2 separate regions of the Homo sapiens genome follow, and region 2 is linked to region 1. Evidence: promoter capture Hi-C in human tissues and cell types (Jung and others, 2019). All regions are on one chromosome and are shown on one strand. Each heading gives the region's core, a stretch centred on a gene start or on the middle of the fragment in contact. The rest is flanking DNA. Distances are from core to core; before and after follow the strand shown.

Region 1 (5,857 bases), core at 1,461-3,960:
CAGTAATCTGCCCTTTTTCAGAATACCAGATTATGTTCCTACTCAATTCCAACCCTCCTCCCTTGCTGACCATTTTCTATCACCAGTCCTTTACTTCTTACTTTTTCCTCCACCTCCGTATGTCTATAACCTCAGATGGAAAAACACTTTCCATTTATCCTATTGTCCCACATCTCTATTTTTCTCCACCTTCTACTACTGAACATGTCCACTTCCCTACAATCTATTCACTATAATCCCCTATAAAAAGATTTATAAGTCTATCACTCTACAAAAATAAAAAAAATAAAACTACTGACAAAGGACATCTGATTTGCGGACAGCTTGTTCCAGTTGCTGCTTACTCAGTTCTCCAGTCTCTTGATCTCTTCCGCAGTTTTATGGCAGAACTGACCAACCCCTCCTTATTGCAGTTATTCCTCTCGCTTTTGTAATGAAGCAGAGCGGTTTACAGGAAGGACTCTGGACCGAGAATCAGGAGATCTATGTTCTAGACCCAATTAAACGACTAATTACCTGTGAGCCTCCCCACCTCCACTCCTACCCACTCCTCAGATCTCAGTTCTTGTGAGACACTCTTAACACCCAGACTAGGTTATGTCACTCCAGTACCCACTTTGTGAAAACCTATTCTCCTTTGTAGTGCTTATCACAATTACTTAATTATATAATCAGTAGATGGATGGCTATCTTTCCTACCCACACACCAGACTGTAAACTCCATGAAGGCAGAGAGCATATGCCTTGCACCTCATCTGTGCAAAATAAAAACCTGTCAATTGAGTTAATGTTGAAACAGATGTTAAGACCACTTCCTGAGACTGCTTGCATTATTTTTATTATCCTAAGTAATAAAATTACTAGCATTTTAGTTACTTACAAAATTATCGGCAAAACTTTAAACAAAAACTTGAAATTTGGTGAACTACATATGAATTTCCATATAAAATAGATCATGAGTAACAGGAACTTGTTTTCCAAAATAGTTATATTTCTCTTGCTCATCTAAGAGACAGTTGGATCAGTAACCTGCATTTCAGCACCAAAATGTGTTCTAAACCATATACGGACTGAATGTATAAGGGTACATCATGACATAAGTGATGTTTAATTTGACATTAAAACACTATTGTTTACGTAGCTGTTTAGAGAATACCGAGTGGTACTTTACGTTTAAAGCTGTTCTTTAACATTGGCAAAAGCCATGAGCTACATACACACTCTGCAAGGAAATGAAAAGTTTATCAGTCAAGTTACCTTGCAGTGTGATTTTAAATATTATTTCATATAAATCAGGGAAAAACAAGTACTGGTTCAGCGGTAAGACTGCTTTCAAATGTAAAAATATCATATCTCACACGAGTGAAAGTTTTGTCAAGTTTTATGGTACACCACCTTGGTCAAATAATTTTAACAGATTACATGCTAATTTGCCTTTCAACTGCTGAGTGTATCCTGCTCAACAATACCGTAAGGTCCTTCCCGGAAGGCTTGGCATTTTTGTTCGTTGGTCCCCTTAATAGGAATGCAGGTGGTTTCAGTAATCTATAATATTCCAAAAAAGAACTGAAAATGGCTTTTGAGGTTCAATGTTTATACAATGCCATCTGAAAACATTGTACAAGTACCTAAAATCTGATGCTTAGACAATTCCCTTGGTTAAGAGTGGTTAATAGGCTGTAAATATAGTTGTAATCCCCAGGAAAGAAGAGGCATTTCATAACGGAAACACTAACAGATACGATCACTCCGAGCCGCTCTCCAAGGCGTCCTCATCGTTAAATCAACACCAGGGGTTGTGAGCGGGCAATTGTGCCCCTCTGACACCCCCGCTCTTCCGCAGACTCGGGCTCCAATCCCCGCGCGAGGAGTCCCTCGAGACTAGCCAGCTCTTCCTCGAGACTTCGGAAGCTGGGAAATCCCTGGCCAGGGAACCAGGAGCTCAAGCCCCCTCCCCTTTCCTTTCCTGAAAATTAATGAATTGGCCGTCTGATTGTTTATTTAATGAGGTGTGTAGTGGCCTCTACTGGTGCTAGTGTGAGCACAAGAATGTCCCACTCTTACAAGTGGGATGAGCCTGGGGGAGGGGAGAGAGGCGAGGGGTGAACCTGCCTCCAGGTACAAAGCTGGGAACTAGACCCCTGCGCCCCCGACCTGCCCCCCGGCAGCCGCCCCTTCCCCGGTGGCGCCCCCTCTCGCCCTTCTCCTCCCCACCACGCGCGATCCCCTTTCTCTTCGGCAACCGGAGCCGAGGCAGAGAAGTTCCTGCACGTTTCCTCCTGGATCCTAAACAAAAACACCGCAGCCGCGGCCGCCTGAGCCGGTGCCGCGCCCCCGCGAACCCCCGGGCCCGCGCCCGCCGCTTACCTGGGGACTGCGGCGCGGAGCCGCTCCTGGCGGCCGCGGCGCCCGGCGCCCGGCGCCCGAGCAGCAGCAGGCAGTAGAGCCAGAAGGAGGGGGTGCTGAGGAGTCGCCGGGCTCCCCGCTCCGCCGCCATCTCTTCCCCGAGAGTGAGCGGCAGCGGCGGCGACAGCGCCGCGGAGCCCTTGCCTCCTTCCCTCCCGCGCGCCTCAGCCGGTCCCTCGCTGCAAGCTCGGCTCCCGCGGCCGCCGCTGCTCCAGCCCAGCCCGGCCCGGCCCGGCCCGCGCAGCCCCTCTCGCTGGAGGGGAGACTCCAGGGCGCCTCCCTCCTGCAAGGGGGCGGGGAGGGGAGGAGAGCGAAGAAGGGGAGTCAGTACATTCCGGGGCGGGGGGGGGGGGGCGGTGGGTCGGTCTCCAGGTTCCAGGCGCCGCCACCCGCCGCCGACTCCGGCTCCACACACCAGCGCGAGGGGGGCGGAGACCGCGGACGGCGGGGGCGGGGGCGGGGGCGGGGGGCGGGAGTCCCGGGCGCGCACACGCGCACGCGCGCGCCTCGCCCGCACCCCCTCGGCTCCGCGCGCGGCCCGCCCCCGCTCCAATCCCGGCTGCCGCCTCTCGGGCCGTGGCGGGCCCGCTCCCCTCCCCCTTCTCCCCGGAGCCGCTGACGGGTGCGGGGCGCGCGCGCCGGGCGCTGCTGCTGGCGTCAGGGAAACCCCGGAGAAGCGGATCCTCCTGCTCCTCCCGCCCGCTCGCCGCAGCCCCTCGGCTCCGCGCGCCCCCGCCTCCTCCTCCTCGCCTCGGGGACAAATTCCCCCCTCACCTCCCCAGATGCCTCTGGCTGCAGAGACCTGAGGGCGAGAGGCGCTCCGAGCTCAGGCTGGTCCGGGAGGCCGGCGTGGGCGCGCACCTCTGCACAGTCCGGGCCTGGAGCCTCTATATAGGGCCTCAGAGGAAACCGAAAGGCCTCCGGGAGGAAACCTGGGTGCGCAGTGGGTCGGCCCGGGGATTTATGTGCTCGCCAAAAACAATAGCGATCCCGCCCGACTCTTGCTGGGCCCTGGCGCGGCTCCCGTGGGAGGGGGCCGGCCGCGCAGCCGCTGACCTCCGGCTCCCAAGCCGGGCCGCCGTCGCCGCGCGCTTCCCCCGGGCAGCGCCGGGACCCGCCCGAACCGCGCCCCCACCCGCATCGCTCGGCCCGGGTCCAGGGAACTAGGCACAGACAAAGGTGCCCGCTGTCCACTTCCTCAGCTCGTGCGGGGGCCCCGACCGAGCCCTGGGACTCCCCGGGGCCAGTCTTCTCGCAGTAACTGCTACGTTTTACCTGTACCTTTGCGGGACACTTGGCGTTTTCCTACCTGGGAATCACGTCTTTCGCTGATAAACCAAGGAGCAAGTGGGATATGATTTTAAACCACTTAGTAATCGTGAGGCAGCACCCAGGCTACACAAAGTTAGGAGAAAGCAGTTTGTAGTTCCACTGCTGATGAGACTATTGATCATTTTATATACTGCACCCATGAAAAATTTTTAAAGAAAATTTATTTGTATGATTATGCAAGCAGAGTCACGTTTGGTGGTTGATAGGCGTTGGGTTTTATTCACTCTTCTGTGTAGTCGATAACCGAAATGTCTTGCTTCCCACAAGAAAATGGCTATTTCACTAACATATCCCTCTGTGCTTTCTCATAGTTACTTTCCAAAGATATTTTATTCTAAAGCGCCAAAATGAACAATGTAAGACATGGATTAACGTCGGGAGGGAAGAGCTCAGAATCTTCATAAAACCTTAAATCATCAAAACGGTGAAATTAGGAATTCTCATGCTAGTTCTTTGAAACAATTGACTTAATAGAGGAAACACATGCTTATGGTTTTTCACTAGGGAAACCATTTAAATACCTTTTTGTTTTGGTTAGAGTTGTTAACCAGCAAAAATATTTCCTAAATACCCGTGATTGACCTGTTAAATTAGAAATAGATTACCTCCCAATTACTTCACAAGTATTTGCTTAATTAACCTTTAATAATCACATCATTATTCAGTTTTCTGAGATAATTAATGAGAAAAGCTCTTTGAAAACTGTAAATTGCCTTGCAAATGTTAATTTCCTGATATCTTTTCTAAGTCTGGAAAAATTTCATTATATTAAACCTATAACGTGTAATATGACTTCTGAGATGAAGCTTACATTTATCTCCAAGTTTTGAAAAATACATGAGTTGTGGCTAATAACAGACTGATTTTCATATATGACTTATATGAACTGTCTCACTAATTTATCAGCCCACTGTGTATATCAGGTTAATATCAAAAAGTTTAAAACAGTTGTATATTTCTGGCTTCTGATTAAATCACAATTTTAATAAAACCCACTCTATTAAACCACTAGTAGATGGAGCCCCAGATTAAAGCTACAGATCCTAAATCAGTTCAAGATAGTTAAGTAACTCAGGCACACACTTGAATTCAGCTCCTTTACTTTGTTTCAAAGTCACTGACACTGTCGACATGCCCTTTAAAAATCATCATTGAGTAATTAACCTGTTCTTTGTTTAGTAAAGCATATCTGAGAAAAGATTTTCTTAGGCATCTCTTTTATCATTCTTATTCTCCCAACAAGATTTTCAACAAATACTTCAGCCTGCACGTATACTGCTAATCAACACTTTTATGTTGTCTAAACTATCAATCTATGAAGAGATATTAAACCACTGGTGAAATTAACAGTTTTTTCATCTAAGTAAAGTTAGAACATGAGGCCCATGTTCAAGGAATAAGTGCACAAAGAAACTTTAGAGCAAAGAAAACAGAGTGGCCATTGTGTGTCTGTAAAAGTTATCGAAATGCAGGCCAAAAATAACTAGACTGATATCTTGTGAAATTTATGCTAATGTATTTTGATATAAAAATTACATGAAATATTAAAGCCTATGAATATAAAACTTGGTAGGAATCTTATTCTCTATAGTAAAAGGATTTTTTTTTCAACATTAGAAAGGACGTACAATTCAGTGTTTAACTGCTGGCAGTAATGAGATTCTGCAGCTGATTCCCTGGCTGAATCCCAGTGTCCGAGGTTGAGAAGAAGAAAGCTAGTCCCCTGACTAGCAGATCTCAGGATAGAACACTTCCTAGTCACAGCAGACTTCAACTAGAAGTTGCCCCAGTCTTAAGAAAGTGATTTTCTTCTGCACAGAGATTGTTATTTTTATATTTGCCCTTTACATTCCACTAGGTAAGAATTTTTATTTTCTCCCGTTCTCCTTCAGAAGCCACCTGCTCTAGGGAGCCATCTCTGATTAAGCGTAATTAAAAAGGATGTGTGCTCCTTTTTAAGTACAAGCATGCTCAATATTAATTTTGCTTGTCACATGTTGCTTAGTTGATCACATATCTTTAGTTCAACAACAATCTATTAATTCAGCAAAAATTATTGAGGACCTGTTTTCACCAAGTATTGTGCTGGATGCTGGGATAACAAAATTATTGGTTCATT
Region 2 (6,432 bases), core at 1,793-4,292, 260 kb after region 1:
CAGGTGCCTGTAATCCCAGCTACTTGGGAGGCTGAGGCAGGAGAATCGCTTGAACCTGGGAGGCAGAGGTTGCAGTGAGCCAAGATCACGCTATTCATTGCACTCCAGCCTGGGCAACAAGAGCAAAACTCCATCTCAAAAAAAAAAAAAAAAAATTCTGAGACAGGAAGCAGGATGAACTGAAGCTGGTTGTGTCTATCTCCTTTTATGGCAATAGCCCTTCTTTATACCACAGGCCCAGACCACAGTGCCTGGACTAGAAGCAGCTAACATCCCAAGTGGTCAGCCCTTGGGGTCACTGGCTCTCAGCAGCAGTGGCAAGGCCTGCAGGTTTCTCATGGATGTTGCTCGCCACCCTCCCAGAAAGAGCAGACAAATCATTCTCCCCAGCTTGTCCCCATTCATGCTTACATTTTTTTAAATGAATTAATACTTTTAATAATTTATTTCTAAATCTTTCTTTAAAGGGGCATTACAGTCTATTGCGAACAGATCTGCAGGCAAGTCAGCCTGACGTTGAAACTATAATACATGTTTTTCTTAGTTTTGGCACTATTTACTGTTTAGAACAAAAGAGAATAACTTTTAAAATAACAAATGGATAGTACTTCACTGGGAACATCATCCAACAGATAGATTTTCTTTTCATACCACAAATCTACATATCTTTAGTCAAAGTTATATTAAGAAGTTAATTTCCCAAAAGAAACAAGAGTAAACAGTCATGATGAGACTTAGCTGGGTTTTCTTGAGAAACGAAATTAAAAACAAGCTGTACTGCTTACTTTTCAGCAAATTCTACTTTGCCAAGTTTCAGAAGGAAAAGCCTAACATACTGGAAACTACCACATGTAGTTTCCAGTGTTGTCCCCTTGCCCGGGAGAATCTGGGGGACCTACTTCTTCCTGACAGCCTGCTTTGTCACCACCAAATCCATCAGCATGATGGCTTCACTCCCTACCACAAGCAGCCTAGCACCTGGGTTGGAGTTGATAAATTCCGCAAACCTGGGTCGGAGTAGATAAATTCTGCTGCCTCTTCAACGGAGCTATGGATTTCAGGGCTCCATCTATGTGCGTCAGTCAGTTTGAATGCAGCTAGTTACTTACTGCAAGTTTGCCAGCTCTCTGCAACAAAAATCCGGCATATCAGTCCATTTCTCTCCCCATTACAACTTGAGTAGGTACTGAGTAGCAATTTTTTTTCCAGAGCTCCTGATGTCTGTCCACTCTATGATCCACCAGTTTGGTCATGTGGCAAACTCTGTTACAATCAACATTTTGGAAAATTTACCATCACTGTCATGTTATTCAGAAGCAGCAGCTCTTGGTGACTGTGATTTCTGTGGCTATTCTGGGATTGGGGGAAGGAAATGCCCCAGAAATTCCCTTTCCTACTTCCTTGATCCAACCCTTTCAGCCTCTCTTTTCCTTCTGCAGTATCTAAGTGAATATTGGAGCTTTTCTGTGTAAGAAAAAAAAAAATGGCTGGGCATTGTGGCTCACACCTGTAATCCCAGCTACCCAGGAGGCTGAGGTAGGAGATTGCTTGAGGCCAGGGGTTCAAGACTAGTGTGGGCAACATAGTGAGACCCCCTTCTCTAAAAAAAAATTAAAAAAAAAACATTAGCCAGTCAAGGTGGCATGCACCTGTAGTCCCAGCTATTCAGAAGGCTGAGGAGGGAGGATTGCTTGAGCCCAAGTGTTTGGAGTTTGAGGCTGCAGTGAGCTATGATGATGCCACTGCACTCCAGCCTGGGTAACAGAGTGAGACCTCATCTCTAAAAATAAACAAATAAATAGGGAGAAGCCGTAGAGACCTACAGGCTTATTATATTGATTGGTCAGTGTAGCCCTTTTTGAGGAAATTGTATTTGAGCAGAGATATGAATGACATAAAGCAGCCAGGCATGCAAAGATCAAGTCACAGAGTATTCCAGATGAAAGTAAGAGCCAGAGCAAAGACTCTTAGGAAGGGTAGGCCTGGTGCGGTGGCTCATGCCTGTAATCCCAACACTTTAGGAGGTTGAGGTGGGCGGATCATGAGGTCAGAAGTTCAAGACCAGTCTGGCCAACATAGTGAAACCCCGTCTCTACTGAAAATACAAAAAATTAGCCAGTGTGGTGGTGGGCGCCTGTAATCCCAGCTACTCAGGAGGCTGAGACAGAAGAATTGCGTGAACCCAGGAGGCGGAGGGTGGAGTCAGCCGAGATCACGCCATTGCACTCCAGCCTGGGCAACAGTGGGAGACTCCATATCAAAAAAAAAAAAAAAAAAGATGGGTATCAGGTAGCTTTTGTTCAATAATAAACCACTTCAAAATTCAGTGACATAAAAATAATAACCATTTATTTATTATTACTTTGTGGGTCAGTAATTTGGGCTGAGCTCAGATGGGCTGTCTTCTGGTCTCAGATGATCTTACTTTTGTGTCAGTGGTCAGCTACTAATCAGCTAGGTGACTTTGCTTCTTAGGGTTGCCTGGCTATCAGCTGGAGTGATGGGAGCAAGCGGGCCATATTTCTTTCATCATCTAGCAGGCTATCCCAGGCTTGTTGATAAGTCTTGTTGATATGTGGCAGTGCAGGGTTGCAAGAGAGAGTAGAAGCATGCAAGGCCTCCTCAGGCTTTGACTCAGAAATGGAACGATGTCACTTCTGCCATATGCTATTGGCAAGGCCAGCCCAGATTCAAGAAGTGGAGAAACAGACATCACTCCTTGATGGGAGACTGAGAGACAAGGTCACAGAGAAAAGGAGAATTATGATACTTGTAACACACCATGAGCAAGAATGAACAAAGAACAGAAAAAAAAAATTCCAGCATGTCCAGAGCAATTGTTGGGGAGTGTTATGGGCTGAACTGTATTCCCTTCAAAATTCATATATTGAAGTCCTAATCCCTAGTACCTCAAAATGTGACTGTACAGTCTTTAAAAAGGTAACTAAGTTTAAATGAGGTCAGTAGGGTGGCCACTAATCCAATATAACAGGTAAGGGAATGAAAAGACAGACAAGAAAATATTTGCAAATCACAGGTCTTATAAAGGACTCGCATCCAGAGTATTTTTTTAATTCAGTAATAAGAAAAAAACAATCTAATAAAAATGGGCAAAAGATATGAACAGATACTTGACCAATGAAGATATGAAAAGATGCTCAACATCATTAGTCATTAGGAAAATAAAAATTAAGACAAAGATATACCTACATATTTATTAGAATGGCTAAATTTAAAAGACTTACCGTACCAAGTCTTGGCAAGCAAACAGAAGAACTAGAACTCTAATAGAATGCTGGTAGGTATATAAAACGGTACAACCACTTTGGAAAACAATTTGATAGTTTGTTAAAAAGTGGAACATACATCTGTTACATGATTCAGGTATTCCATTCCTAGATATTTCCCAAGAGCAATTAAAGCCTACAAAAAGACCTGTAAACAAATGCTCATAGCAACTTTATTTGTAATAGTCAAAAACTAGAAAGAACCCAATGTCCATCAACAAATGAATAGATAAACAAATAATGGTATATCCATACAATGGAATACTATTCAGCAACAAAAAGCAATAAACTAGCACAATCTATAGAAGAAAAAATAATCAACACATTACACTTCATCAAGAAGAAAAACTTTTATTCTGTGAAAGGCTCTATTAAGAGGATGAAAAGACTGGAAGAAAATATTGCATACCATGTATCTGGCAAAGGACTTTTATCTATAATATATGATATATAGTCTCAAAATTCAATAACAAAAAACAAACAATTCAATTATAAAATGGGCAAAAGGCTTGAAGAGACAGCCAGCCACGGTAGCTCATGCCTATAATCCCAGCACTTTGGGAGGCGGAGGCAGGCGGATCACTTGAGGTCAGGAGTTCAAGACCAGACTGGCCAACATGATGAAACCCCGTCTCTACTAAAAAATACAAAAATTAGCCGGGTGTGGTGGTGCGCACAGATAGTCCCAGCTACTTGGAAGGCTGAGGCTGGAGAATCGCTTGAACCCAGGAGGCAGAGGTTGCAGTGAGCCGAGATCACACCACTGCACTCCAGCCTGGGCAACAGGGCGAGCCTCTGTCTCAAAAAAGAAAAAAAAAAACCTGAAGAGACACTTCACTGAGGAAGATATATGGATGGCAAATAAATACATGAAGAGATGCTCAACACTACTAGCCATTAGGGCAATGTAAACTAAGACCACAAACAGATGTCACTATACACCCATTAGAACAAAACCTAAATTAGTGACAATATCAAGTGCTGGTGAGGATGTGAAGAAACTGGATCTCTCATATGCTGCCTGTGGGGATGTAAAAGAAAACTAAACATAAAACCCAGCAATTGTATTCCTGGGCGTTTCTCTCAGAGATATGAAATATGTGCACCCAATACTCTGTACATGATTGTTTATTGCAGCTTTATTTGCAATTGCCCAAAACTGGCAACAACCAATTGCCCAAAACTGGCAACAACTCAGGCTTTGACTCAGAAATGGAACGATGTCACTTCTGCCATATTCTATTGGCAAGGCCAGCCCAGATTCAAGAAGTGGAGAAATAGACATCACTCCTTGATGGGAGACTGAGAGACAAGGTCACAGAGAAAAAGGAGAATTATGATATTTGTAACACACCATGAGCAAGAATGAACAAAGAACAGAAAAAAAAAATTCCAGCATGTCCAGAGCAATTGTTGGGGAGTTCTCCTTCAATGAGTGAATGACTAAGCTAACTGTGATCTTTCCATACCACAGAACATTACTCAGTCAAAAAATAAAAATAAATAACAAAAATGAACTATTGACACATGCAACAGTGTTGGATGCATCTCAAGGGTATTATGCTCTCAAAAGATCACATACTGTATGATTCCATTTATAACATTTCTCAGAATGACAAAATTACAGTGATGCAAAGCAGATTAGTGGCTGCCAGGGTCTAGGAATGGTAGAGGATGGGGGTTGGGTGTGACTAAAGGGATAGCATGAGGGAGATCTTCGTGGTGATGGGACAGTTCTTGCAACTTGATTGAGTGGTGATTACCCGAATCTCCATATATAATAAGACGGCACAAAACTATACATACACCTTGCACCAATGTCCGTTTACTGGTTTTGATGCTGCACTATGATTATGTAAGATATATCCATTGAAAGAAACTGGGTGAAGGGTACACAGACCCTACCATTTTGGCAACTTCCTGTGAATATATAACTGTTTTGAAGTTAAAAGTTTTTTAAAGAGCAATTAACAGTTGATATTCACTATAACCTAGATAAATCTCAAAAATAATTATGCTGTATGAAAAAAGCCACATCAAAAAGAGTATGTACTGTATGATCCCATTTATATAAAATTCTGCAAAGTGTAAACTGAACTGTAGGGACAGAAAGCAGATTGCCTAGGTACAGGGAGTGGGAGGATGTACAGGCAGGAAGGAGTAAGAGGGAAGGGTTACAAAGGGCCATGAGGAAGTATTTGGGGGTGATGGATATGTTTACTATATTACCTTGATTGTGGTGATGGTTTTGTCAGAGGCATTCGAACCAGAGCGACTCCACTTTGAGTGAGGGCTAGGAGAATGAGGCTGAGACTTGCTGGACTGAATTCCCAGAAAGTTAGGCATTCTTAGCCTCTAGATGTTTACGGTTAAGGGAACAAATTAATAATGTTTACTAAAACAGACCCAGACTCGGGAGTGTCCAGATATCCCAATATCTGGGGAACAAAGGCATTCCTAATTTTGCTTGAAAGATAATAATATTGATTCTTGCCAAATACGATAATTAAGAAAATTAATAGTTTATCACAAACCCTTGTAGCAGAGCACATCTCTCCATATATACAAGCATTGTACCTAGGGTGGATGCGTTCCTCCTCTTAGTTTCGGGAACGTCCCGCTCTGTCTATGGAGTAGCAGTCCTTTCACCACTTTGCTTTCTTAATAAACTTGCTTTCGCTTTGCACTACAGACTAGCCCTGAATCCTTTCTTGCATGAGATCCAAGAACCCTCTCTTGGCGTCTGGATCTGGACCCCTTTCCTGTAACAGTTTCAGGGTGTATACATATATTAAACTTATTAATTTGTATACTTTAAATATTATGCACTTAATGCATATCAATTTTACTTCAATAAGCATACTAAAAATATTAAGTGCCTAGTAATAAAACTTACTAAAGACATACAAATCCTCCACAAAAAGTCTAATATGATATTGGGAGACATTTAGGTAGATCTAAATAAATGAAGGGATCTACCATAGTCCTAGAATGATAAAAATCCTAATTGGGTTTTTTTGGGAGGGAGGGCGACAAGTTGATTCAAAAATGTATATGGGAATTTTAAAAGGCCAAAGATAGCCAAGACACTCTTGAAGAGTAAGGAGAAAGAATTTATATTAACAGATATCAAGACAGTGAGACG

What was found. The method cuts DNA at HindIII sites, captures the fragments that hold promoters and counts their contacts. A contact is called where the count stands out against the background at its distance.
Region 2: a fragment that was not itself captured here is called in contact with the fragment with the promoter of NEO1 in region 1 in 6 of the 25 tissues and cell types used here (IMR-90 fibroblasts, aorta, dorsolateral prefrontal cortex and 3 more).

The regions. Positions count from the first base shown.
Region 1 is chr15:73,049,316-73,055,172 of GRCh38, reverse strand. It overlaps NEO1 (neogenin 1), which reads right to left and starts at 2,710. Exons shown (of 29, transcript NM_002499.4): 1 at 2,368-2,710. The coding sequence starts at 2,497. RefSeq lists silencers at 2,391-2,770, 3,001-3,320, 3,411-3,480, 3,541-3,590. The HindIII fragment of the contact is 9,189 bases long and covers 1-5,317 here.
Region 2 is chr15:72,788,854-72,795,285 of GRCh38, reverse strand. The region is part of intron 2 of ADPGK-AS1 (ADPGK antisense RNA 1); the gene reads right to left. Among named protein-coding and RNA genes, the nearest start is that of ADPGK, 8.3 kb to the right of the region's middle. The HindIII fragment of the contact is 9,698 bases long and covers 1-6,432 here.